4 separate regions of the Homo sapiens genome follow, and all the other regions are linked to region 2. Evidence: promoter capture Hi-C in 16 types of primary human blood cells and fetal thymus (Javierre and others, 2016). All regions are on one chromosome and are shown on one strand. The core of a region is centred on a gene start or on the middle of the fragment in contact, and the rest is flanking DNA. Distances in the headings are between cores, read along the strand shown.

Region 1 (2,700 bases), core at 191-2,690, 320 kb before region 2:
GTGGCGAGATGGCTGGAAGAAGAGGTTAGTACCAAGCTGTGAAAGGATTTATATGTCTGCATGTGAAGTTTTGCTTCTTCCTAGTAATGGTGAGTCAGCAGCAACACCTTTTTTTTTTTTTAATGTAGATATGGTGTCTTGCTATGTTGATCAGACTGATCTCAAACTCCTGTCCTTAAGTGATCCCCCCACCTCAGCCTCCCAAAGTGCTGGGATTACAGGTGTGAGTCATTGTGCATTGCCTAGCAACACTTTTTAAATAAGGAAGTAACATGGTCAAATTTGAACTTCAGAATGACATACTCTTGTGACAATGTAGAGGATGATTTGGGGGAGAAAGAAAAAATAGACACAGAGACTCCAGCTTCTTGTCCTAAGCTTCTGAAATTTGGGAACTCCCAGTTCATATCTTAAATTTGATATCTAGCACATTCTCTCTCATCCTTCTGAACTAATTCTGTTATGTACACGAAGCATTCTCTCTAAACACTTTGTTGTTAGTTGCTTTTTTCCTGGGAATTTGTTTGTTTGAGACAGGGTCTCACTCTGTTACCCAGGCTGAAATGCAGTGGCATGATCATGGCTCACTGCAGCCTTGAACTCTTGGGCTCAAGTTATCCTCCCGTCTCAGCCACCCAAGTAGCTGGGACTTTAGGTGTGTGTCATCATACCTGGCTAGTTTTTATTTTAATTATTTATTTTTAAACATATTTTTTGTAGAGATGGGTCTCACTATGTTGTCCAGGCTGGTCTCAAATTCCTGGGCTAAAGCAATCCTCTTGCCTTGGCCTCTCAAAATCCTGGGACTATAGGCATGAGCCACCATGCCTAGTCTGGGCACTTTTTTTTTTTTTTTTTTGAGATGGAGTCTTGCTCTGTCGCCCAGGCTGGAGTGCAGTGGCACGATCTCAGCTCACTGCAGCCTCTGCCTCCCAGGTTCAAGCAATTCTTGTGCCTCAGCCTCCTAAGTAGCTGGGATTACAGGTGCGTGCCACCGTGTCCAGCTAATTTTTGTATTTTTAGTAGAGACAGGGTTTCACCATGTTGGCCAGGCTGGTCTCGAACTCCTGACCTCAGGTGATCTGCCCACCTCGGCCACCCAAAGTGCTGGGATTACAGGCGTGAGCCACTGCGCCCGGTCAGTCTGGGTATTTTATACATGGTTATTTAGGTGTAGGAAGCATTTGCCAGTGCTTTCTGATTGACTTTTAATGTCTTTCTCAATGATGCCTTTTGTTTTTCTGGCCGTTTTGGGGTTTTTGGTTTTGGTTTTTTTGTTTTTTTTTTTTTGAGATAGGGTCTCGCTCCAGGTTGGAGTGCAGTGGCATGATCACCCCAGGCTCAGCTGATCCTTTTGCCTCAGCCTCCTGAGCAGCTGGGATTAAAGGCATGAGCCACCACACTTGGCCACCTTTTTCTTTAATAAATATTTTTAATGAATTGATTGCCATGAGGCGCCCATAAATCCTATTGATTGGTAGGTCTTTGTTTTCTAAACTTCTAATCTAGAGGGAAACAAATTCATTTAACAGACGTTTATTGTATAACTGATTTCTGCAGGCACTGCACATGGTCCCAGAAATTTAAAGATGAATGAAGACTGTCTCTGCCCTCATGGAACTCACAATCTAGTAGGAAGAATTTTTTAAAAAGACATAAATGGTTATAAAAGTGCATACTAGCTGGGCGCGGTGGCTCACGCCTGTAATCCCAGCACTTTAGGAGGCTGAGGCGGGTGGATCACCTGAGGTCAGGAGTTCGAGAGCAGCCTGACCAAAATGGAGAAACCCCGTCTCTACTAAAAATACAAAATCAGCCAGGTGCAGTGCGCATGCCTGTAATCCCAGCTACTTGGGAGGCTGAGGCAGGAAAATCTCTTGAACCCGGGAGGTGGAGGTTGCAGTGAGCCGAGATCACGCCACTGCAGTCCAGCCTGGGTGAAAGAGCGAGTCTCTGTCTCAAAAAAACAAAACAAAACAAAACAAAACAAAACAAAACAAAACTGCATAGTCTAGGACAGAAGAAGGCATAACTAATTTTTGTGGGCTACCAAGAATCAGTAAATCATCCCCCCTTTCAAACTATATGAATGTGTAATTTGCAACTCTTATTGCAGCATTTGAAAACATAGAATAACAAGAAAGTACAGTCCATAATTACCTTTGAACTTCAGTTCAATTTACGCCATATCCCCTTAACTAGTTTCTTACAATGCATTAGTTATTCTTAACTGCCCAAGAGTTTGTGAACATTTCTTTTCTTTACAAATTACTCCAAAGCTCTGGTCCATTGGCTTGTGGCAGTACAAAATTACCTTCTATAAATAGCATTTTTAATTGAAACATATGAATCCCAGACAGTGGCATCACACTTAGTTTCTGCTGTGCTCTTGTGGAAGATAAGCCTTTCATGCAGAGCCTAGTAGCTCAGCATGAATTTCATGACCTGCATTTCTTAGTAGCTACTTTGCCTTTAGCATCTTTTCTGCTTGATCAGTTGATAAAAGCTTGTCCTAGTTTCTTGAACCTGTTTTATAGCAATAATTCAGCCTGCATTTATTCTTTCCTTATTGCTTCCTTGAAGTTTAAAACTGTTTAGTGTATTCACCGTTTGCTTTTCTATAGTCTTCAATTATAGGGAGGATTTTCTTCCCTATCAATCTCTTAATAGGTCTTCTGCAGAGCCAGAGATGTCTATTAA
Region 2 (2,710 bases), core at 77-2,576:
GTTCCAGACAGCTCTCAGATGTCTTTTCCTGTAGTTGTGACCAAAAATACAAGAAGGAGGCCAAAGTGCCCAGCCTCAGCCTTAGGCTCCCTGAGGGCAAAAGATGAGGGCAGCATACCTTGTTCCCCTTGCCTCTGGAGCTCCCAACCTTACCTCTTGCCGGTGATAAGAGGTGTTTAGGAAGCCGTGATAGCGCTGCCGCAGGGCCTGGCCCAGTTCCCAGTGCTGTAGCATCCCCTCCTGTGGGCAAACCCAAGGGTTAAGAGGGTCTAGAGGGAAGGGGTGGCTTCAAGCCCCATGGGGTTTAGGCCCTGTTGCTTTCCAGGTTCACGCTTTGCTGGAGTCAATTAATCTGATCCCAGAAGTCTTTCATTAAGTGGCCAGTCATGCACAGCAATATCATGGGCACAGAGATTAAGGTTATGAAATCTGGTCAAAGTCAGCACCCATATGGGAAAAGGCAGTTTAGTAGGACCCCAAGTTTTGTAGACTGCTCTAGACGTCGCTCATTCTGCAGCTCATCCTGAGGAAAGGCTGGCTTCTGACCCACCTTGGTTAACTGACCAAACCCCTGGGGCCATTCTTCTTCCTGATAGGGGTCCTTGGGATATGTCTTCACTGGTGAACGGTCTCCATGGCGGTACAGCTGAGAGAATAAAATGGTTTGCCTATAGGTCAGAAGCATCCCCTTGATAGGGACCCAGAGCCTACCTTTTGCCCCATGTTAGGGAAGGAAGTCTCATTCCCTCTGGGAAGCCTACTGGCTGCAAAAGACCCCAGCTAGGAGTCAGTCACTTCTTCCAGATTCCAGAGATTCTAACTTAGCTAAGCAATGCTACTGGAGACCATAGGCAAAGCCAAGGTACAGGTAGGAAGGGAAAAGAGAAGTGAAAGCAACGTATGTGGTGGGGACAACTGGGGAAAAAAGATAACCAAAGGCTTCTTTAGGGATGAGTCTTAACCATTCAACCACTTCCCTGTCTCAAGGCAGACTCACCCCGACGTATTCGGTCATCCTGACTCCCATAAGCCAGGGCTCCAGGTCAATCCTGAATCCAGCCTCCCAACTACCCAGGCCAGTCGTCCCCTCCTAAACCAGCTGTTCCTTCCCGAGATCCTCGACCTCCACCAGCTGGCCTTTGCCCTTTTAGCTTCAGGGAAGTCTTTGGTGAGCCCATCTCTCATTACCAAGGTAACGAAGCGCAGACTCCGGGCCCGGGTGGGCGGCATCACCACCAGGTTCACGCCGAGAAGGAGCTGGAGGAGAGCCGCCCGGCTCCAGCCGGACCGCTTGCCCGCCATCACCGTTGTAATCTATGCAGCAAACAAGCTGGAACCCGCTGGGTGGCACCTGCAAGCAGCCGCCCGGACGCACCCGTAAGGACACACGCCGGAAGTGCGTTCGCCGCCATCTTACTTAGGGACCTGCTGGGGTGCGGGGAAAAGGCGCAGTCTCGGTGGGATTGCGTGCAGGAGGGTCGTGGTCTGGCTGTGGCGGAGGAGCATAAGAAGGTAACGCGACCTGGCGCGGCAGACAGGGCTCGAAGACCTCATCTTGATTAAGAAGGCCACAAATTCGCGTTTGCCTCTGCTCGGAGAAATCCCTTACCAAGGTGGCACTTGCAGTGGGCGGGACCATGTCTGGAGAACCAGCGTCCCCTCCAGGCTTGACCCCATAGCTAGATCGGGTGCAGAATTGAGGCGAGGGATGGGAAAGTAGAGGTCGCTTCTCTCCACGCCCCTGCCTTTGTGGGGAGATTGAGCCCTGGCCCTGTTCTCCAGGAGATGTTTTGCTTGGGGTGCAGGACACAGTATGTAAACAACCCTTTGGACTCCGTGTGTCCTTGAGGTTGCCCCAGTCTGGCCTACCGTTCCTGCCCTGCACAAAGCTTCAGTAGCCCTCTCACTTTCCCTTCCAGTCCTTTCCCTGTCCTCCCTCCCCTCCACTTCCAAGTTTTAGTTAATTAGAGTCAAGACGTCATGTCATGCCTCTTCCCAAAGGAGTTGGGTTGCACAGGATGTTCAGACTTTACAAACCCAAAGCACTGAATCCCTGGGGGAGGAATTTCAGACCAGTGGGGAGGTATTTTGAGGTAAGGGACAGGCGCATATCATAAAGTGGGAGTAGGTGGGGTTTCCACAGAATCAATGGCCCTCTTGGCATTGACCATTAGGATTCAGGTGCAGCCAGTTTGGCCTCAGGACTTTGTGACTCCTGTGACGGTTGCAGGTCAGATCATAGGTCCTGGGGATGCTTTGATTCAGATCTGCCTACTGGAAGCAAATCTCCTCAGATCTTTGGGAAACAAAACTGATCAGGCTTGGCCTGGGCGCCGTGGCTCACCTGTAATACCAGCACTTTGAGAGGCCGAAGCAGGCAGATCACCTGAGGTCAGGAGTTCGAGACCAGCCTGGCCAACGTGGCGAAACCCCGTCTCTACTAAAAATACAAAAAAAAAAAAATTAGCCGGGTGCAGTGGCGTGCTCCTGTAATCCCAGCTACTCTGGAGGCTGAGGCAGGAGAATCGCTTGAACTCGGAAAGCGGAGGTTGCAGTGAGCTGAGATCACGCCACTGCACTCCAGCCTGCGCGACAGAGTGAGACTGTCTCAAAACAACAACAACAAAAACCTGATTAGGCTTGGTGTGGTGGCTCACGTTTCTAATCCCAGCACTTTGGGAGGCCAGGGTGGGAAGATTGCTTGAGCCCA
Region 3 (2,819 bases), core at 221-2,720, 340 kb before region 2:
GATTGAACAGCAAAGATGTTTAATTCCACTCCATGTGATGGGACTCCCCGGTACACAGATCCCCTTCATGGGGTATCATGGTGAAGAAAAAGGATAAGGCTAATAAGGATCTCAACTGGGGATATTTTGTCCCCCGGAGGACATTTAGCAATGTTTGGAGACATTTTTGGTTGTCCTGCTTGGCGGTGCTTACCGACATCTGGTGGGTAGAAGCTAGGGATGCTGCTAAAGACTCTATAACGTGTATAATTCTATACAGGATTACACGCCTGTAATCCCAGCACTTTGGGAGGCCCAGGTGGGCGGATCACCTGAGGTCAGGAGTTCAAGACCAGCATGGCCAATGTGGTGAAACCCCCGTCTCTACTAAAAATACAAAAATGAGCCGGGTATGGTGGTGGGCACCTGTAATCCCAGCTACTTGGGAGGCTGAGGCAGGAGAATTGCTTGAACCCAGGAGGCAGAGGTTGCGGTGAGGGGAGATCATGCCATTGCACTCCAACCTGGGCAACAGGAGCGAAACTCCGTCTCAAAAAAAAAAAAAAAAATCTATAACATGCAGACAGGCCCCTATGACAAAGAATTATCTGGCCCAAAACATCAACAGAGGTTGAGAAATGCTGCTAACCACACACAGTAGGGAGTGGGGATGTACCAGACGGGAGTTCAGGATGAAAGCTGTGGAAAGGACAGAGAGGAAGTAGGGGGGAATAGGAGGAGGAGGTTAGGCAGAGGACAAAGCACTGGACCTGGAGCAGACAGACTTGGGTTCCATCGACCAGCCAGTTGACCTTGTGCAAGTCACGTAGCCCCTTAAGCTTCAGTTTTCTTGTTTGTAAAAAAGCCACAAGGGGCTGAACATGGTGGCTCATGCCTATAATCCTAGCACTTTGGGAGGCTGAGGCGGGCAGATCACTTGAGGTCAGGAGTTTGAGACCAGCCTGGCCAACATGGTGAAAACCTGTCTCTACTAAAAATACAAAAATTAGCTGGGCGTGGTGGCGCACGCCTGTAGTCCCAGCTACTTGGGAGGCTGAAGCAAAAGAATTGCTTGAACCATGGAGGCAGAGGTTGCAATGAGCAGAGATCACGCCACTGCACTGCAGCCTGGGCAACACAGCGAGACTCTGTCTCGAAAAAAAAAAAAAGCAACAAAGATTAGACAAGAAAATAAAGGTGGAAAAAACTAATCTTATGCCTTGGCACACCAAAGATGTTCAATAATGGAGGCTGGGGTGTGCAGATGCAGGGCTGTGCAGATGCAGGGCTGTGGAGGCTAAATTTTTCCAAAAGGCCTTGATATTAAGAATCAGAGTACCAGAATAGAGCAAGTAGAGCAGTGTCCTGGGGCTGCGTGCAAATGAAAAGTCATACTGGTAGGGAAGAACCTTAAGCTCCGTTTGTTTTTTTAGGGCCCCACCCCCGCCTTTGGCTGAGTGATAACAGAAGTCCCGATTTCCCCCGCGCAGACTGTAGGAACAAAGCATTCCATCGGTGGGCATCAAGTTAGTTGCAGGCAGTTGAAGGGCCTCGACTTCCTGCATGTCAAATCAACATCTCAGCGTCCGCTGCAGTGAAGGGCGGGCAGCCACCGGTCAGGCAAACGCTTGACTTGGGCATTCATACAGTAAACAGACACATTATACTCCAAAAAGCCAGCTCTTCTGGGCAACTGCTGTCCCTCTGGGGTCCTCAGAGGTGGAATTCTGCCTTTTCACTCAAGTCCTGGCTGTGATCATAAAGGCAGCTTTTAACCCTTTTTAAGGAAAAGAATGGTGAGTGAAGAAAGAAAACAAATGACTGTGGGTGGCAAAATGCAGCCTTCATTTTAAGAAGTGTTGAATTAGAACACTTCACTATGCTCTGGCCTTGAAAGCTGCCAGCCACATCGCAAGCTCCCTTAGCCTCCAGGGGCCTGGGCTCTAGCCCCTCCACCTAATGCAATTCACTATGGAAAAGGTCTGTCCGCAAGGTATCTTTGATCATGAAGCCATCCAGCTTTTGGGATATATGTTAATGTGCTCATAGGATGTTTCTCTAGAGGTTAACTAAAATCTTACCTTTTACATCTCATCTCTCCCACTCCCGCCATCTTACCACTTTCTCACGGCTTTCATATAAAGCAAGCTTGTCCAACCTGAGACTTGCATGGCCCAGGATGGCTTTGAATGTGGCCCAACACAAATTCGTAAACTTCCTTAAAACATGAGATTACTTGCGATTTCTTTTTTCTTAGCTCATCAGCTGTTGTTAATGTTCATGTATTTTATGTGTGGCCCAAGACAATCCTTCTTCCAGTGTAGCCCAGGGAAGCCAAAAGTCTGGACAGCCCTGATATAAAGGAAAGAAGGGAAACATCCATCTGGTATACAAGACACACTAACTTAGTAGTAGACAACATAGATTCTAAAGTCAGAGAGATGAAGGTTCAAATCTTGGTTCTACCACAAATTCCGCAATTTTGAGCAAGTTAGTTAATCCCTCCAGGCCTCAGTTTCCTCATCCATAAAATGGGAATATTAACAGTTCTAACTCAAAGGGCTTTGTAAAGATTAACCCATATAAACTGCTTAGCACAGGGCTAACACACAGCAAAAGCTTCATAATAATATAACCATCTTTTTTTTTTCCGAGATGGAATCTTGCTGTGTTGCCCAGGCTGGAGTGCAGTGGCGCGATCTCAGCTTACGGCAACCTCCGCCTCCCGAGAAGCAATTCTCCTGCCTCAGCCTCCTGAGTAGCTGGGATTACAGGCACCCATCACTGCACCTGGCCAATTTTTGTATTTTTAGTAGAGACGGGGATTCACCATGTTGGCC
Region 4 (2,727 bases), core at 152-2,651, 390 kb before region 2:
CTGTCATGTTGCCCAGGCTGATCGTGAACTCCAGGCCTCAAGCAATACTCCTTACTTCTGTCTTGGCCTCCCAAAGTGGTGAGATTACTTTGGTGTAGCCACTGTGCCTGACCCTAGTTTCAGATTTTATACCAGAGAACTAGACAAGGAATTCCCAACCTTTGTTTTATCCCAAGATGTCCTCCTTTTCTGCTTTTTTTTTCCCTCCCAAAGAGAACAGTGGGGGTTGGAGGGATGGTTATCCTTGGGCTATTCTACTTGTTTTTGTTCTGGCACACCTACTCCTTACTACAGTTAGAAAAATTATACACTGTAGCTTATACTCAGATCTCTGGTCACTTAAATACAAGAAGCTTCAGTCTTTCTTACTTTCATTTTTTGTCTTTTTTTGGGATGGTGGTGGTAATGGTGTTGCTAGACTCTAAGCTCTGTAAGATTATGTCTTTGTTTAGGCATGGGCAGTGCCTAGCCCATAGCAGATGAATGAATGAATGAATGAATGAATGAATGGGGATATTATCCTATAGATGGTGTGTGGTTTAGAAAATCAACTATTGAGACTTGACATGAAATTCTACATCGGGCGTTGAGATTAACATGATTCCCAGTTTTCACTGAGGGATATCACATCCAGAGAACCTGAGAAGGGATCCCTAGCTCCTTGTTCTAGCCTTGAGAAGTAGTGGATGAGCTATGAAAAGACAGCTTTTAAAAATAAATGAAATCCTAGTGATAATTTGATCCACTCTCAGACTAACTATGAAAGTTGACTAAGATCAAACAGAGCTAGTGGCAGATCTGGGACTGGAATTAGCCCTCCATGTCCCCAGCTCCAGTACTTTTCTTACTACATGAGATAGTCTTGCCAGTGACCATCACTGCAAGGCAAAGTAAAGTTCTGTAACAAAGACCTAGAACAGAAATAGAAGATACATGGTATACATGCCATGACATTTCCTTCCAGTGCACAGAAGAGATGTCACTAGCCATATGACATTCTTCCCATTGGGTGCGAATAGGCCCTCAGGCAGCCACTACCAACCAGTCAGAGTCAGCACTCAAGAGGAAACCCATCTACCATTCCTCTTCCAGAGGAAATAAAGGTTTCATCAGTCAAGGAACTCTGGCCTCGACCTGTCTTCTCCAGATGAGCTGAAAACTCCAGCAGGAACCTCACACTCTTTATTGCTCTTCACTGTGCCCACATCCACAAAGGACTTAAAAGTGATGTCTGTAAGCAGGTTTTCCACAGCATGGGTCTGCCAGACAGAGCAGGTGCAGGATTAGTCATGACTCCAAGCCAGGCAAGGTGATTAAGAAAAGCTAAATTTATATTAAATTATCATAAAGTCCTAAAATACTGAACATAGTGGTTAAATAACTCCAGAAAGTCCAATCTCTCCAGTGAGTAACGTTAAAACCATTACACATGAGCATGGGAGAATCGCTTCCATTAGTTTAGGACAGAGAGATTTTGCTTTTTACAGAGTAAATCAGTGCTCAAATAGATACTTCCTCAAATATGTCCTTTCTACATTCTGAACAGCCCAAGTGCAATAAGATCCTTCCCCCTTTCCAATCAAGAAAATGCCACTTTTCTACTTGCTCTTCCTCCCCAGACGTGAGTCTAAGGACCCAAAGTGCTCACTCCTTTACTGCTTGTTAAGTGTAATGTGGGGAGGCTCAGAACTGGGGCTGACGCTACTGAGAGCAAGGCTAAGGGCCTGGTATCTCTCTCTAGCAGTCTTAGAACTGACTAGAAAAGAATTGATCTTGTCCTTTTTCACTTTGGTAGCTGATTTCTCAATACCAGTAACCACAGGAGAAGTTTCAACTCAGGAAACTTCCCCTAGAAATTCTCCCCTCCATTCCCAGCCCCTGTTGTTCTCTCCTGCCACTTCTAATTCCTGGGGGAGAAGAGGTCTGGGTCTGCCATGGGCTAGGAGGGCCTCATCAGTGGTGCTCTCTACCTTCCTACTCCTTACCCACCTCTTTGTATTTTTATTTATTCAGCCCTCCCACCACAGGACTTTGGAGATTGCTGGTGCCACAAGGCTTGGTCAGAAAAAGCAAATTAGGCAAAAAAACAAACAAAAAAACCCCACGAAGAACAGCTAGGGAGACGTTTTAGGGCAAAAATAAGTCTCAATTTCCCTGATACCAGGCTGAGACACGTGCCCTTTGTGTGAATGAGCATGAACCAAGTGATGGCATCCCACATGGAAACTAAGCCCCTTAGCTGAGGGGACAGCTGGAAGAGGAACATCACCACCCCGTAGCCACAGGCTTGCTGTCCACTAACTTAGATCCCTGAGCACTTGAGAAAGAACATAGGAAGTTCAACAGGAAGTTTGACCCTCATGGATACTTCTCTTTAGGCCCTGGGTTTCCCAAGTCTCCAACCTGATCGTTCTTTCTGACCATTTATGACAACTTCTGGTTTTTCTTTGAAAGCTTGTTTCTAGGTCTCTTCCCCAGAATCCCAGGACATGAGGGAGAGAGGGGTCAGGAGGTATACCATATTTGGTCTAGGCAGAGCTTCTTAGACTTTTCAGAGACTCAGCCCCCAAGGCCTAACATTCACTCAAGCCACTGGCTCACAACCTGGTTAATTTGAGCAAAGACTTAGGAAAGGTACTGGCCAGTGGTGGCACCAGGAGGGAATTCCTATTAGCCAGTAGCCTTGTGATAGGGGACCCAGTTATCTGAATGTAGAAACAGCTCCAG

Evidence for each region. The method cuts DNA at HindIII sites, captures the fragments that hold promoters and counts their contacts. A CHiCAGO score of 5 or more calls a contact.
Region 1: a fragment that was not itself captured here is called in contact with the fragment with the promoter of ACP2 in region 2 in 3 of 17 cell types (naive B cells, total B cells and fetal thymus); the score reaches 5.6 in naive B cells.
Region 3: a fragment that was not itself captured here is called in contact with the fragment with the promoter of ACP2 in region 2 in 1 of 17 cell types (erythroblasts); the score reaches 6.3 in erythroblasts.
Region 4: a contact is called between a fragment that was not itself captured here and the fragment with the promoter of ACP2 in region 2, in 1 of 17 cell types (M1 macrophages). The highest score is 5.4, in M1 macrophages.

Annotation. Positions count from the first base shown.
Region 1 is chr11:46,930,102-46,932,801 of GRCh38, forward strand. No RefSeq gene overlaps it. Among named protein-coding and RNA genes, the nearest start is that of CSTPP1, 5.3 kb to the right of the region's middle. The HindIII fragment of the contact is 2,128 bases long and covers 377-2,504 here.
Region 2 is chr11:47,247,488-47,250,197 of GRCh38, forward strand. It overlaps ACP2 (acid phosphatase 2, lysosomal), which reads right to left and starts at 1,327. Exons shown (of 11, transcript NM_001610.4): 1 at 1,189-1,327; 2 at 551-646; 3 at 154-240. The coding sequence starts at 1,302. It also overlaps a transcript of NR1H3 not described here. RefSeq lists enhancers at 793-882, 1,013-1,522 and a silencer at 1,603-1,770. The HindIII fragment of the contact is 7,782 bases long and covers 1-1,887 here.
Region 3 is chr11:46,905,322-46,908,140 of GRCh38, forward strand. The region is part of intron 1 of LRP4 (LDL receptor related protein 4); the gene reads right to left. Among named protein-coding and RNA genes, the nearest start is that of LRP4, 12 kb to the right of the region's middle. RefSeq lists enhancers at 608-1,442, 1,443-2,275. The HindIII fragment of the contact is 1,309 bases long and covers 817-2,125 here.
Region 4 is chr11:46,855,557-46,858,283 of GRCh38, forward strand. It overlaps LRP4 (LDL receptor related protein 4), which reads right to left. Exons shown (of 38, transcript NM_002334.4): 38 at 1,161-2,727. All of the region lies in intron 2 of LRP4-AS1 (LRP4 antisense RNA 1), which reads left to right. Among named protein-coding and RNA genes, the nearest start is that of LRP4-AS1, 11 kb to the left of the region's middle. The HindIII fragment of the contact is 2,101 bases long and covers 352-2,452 here.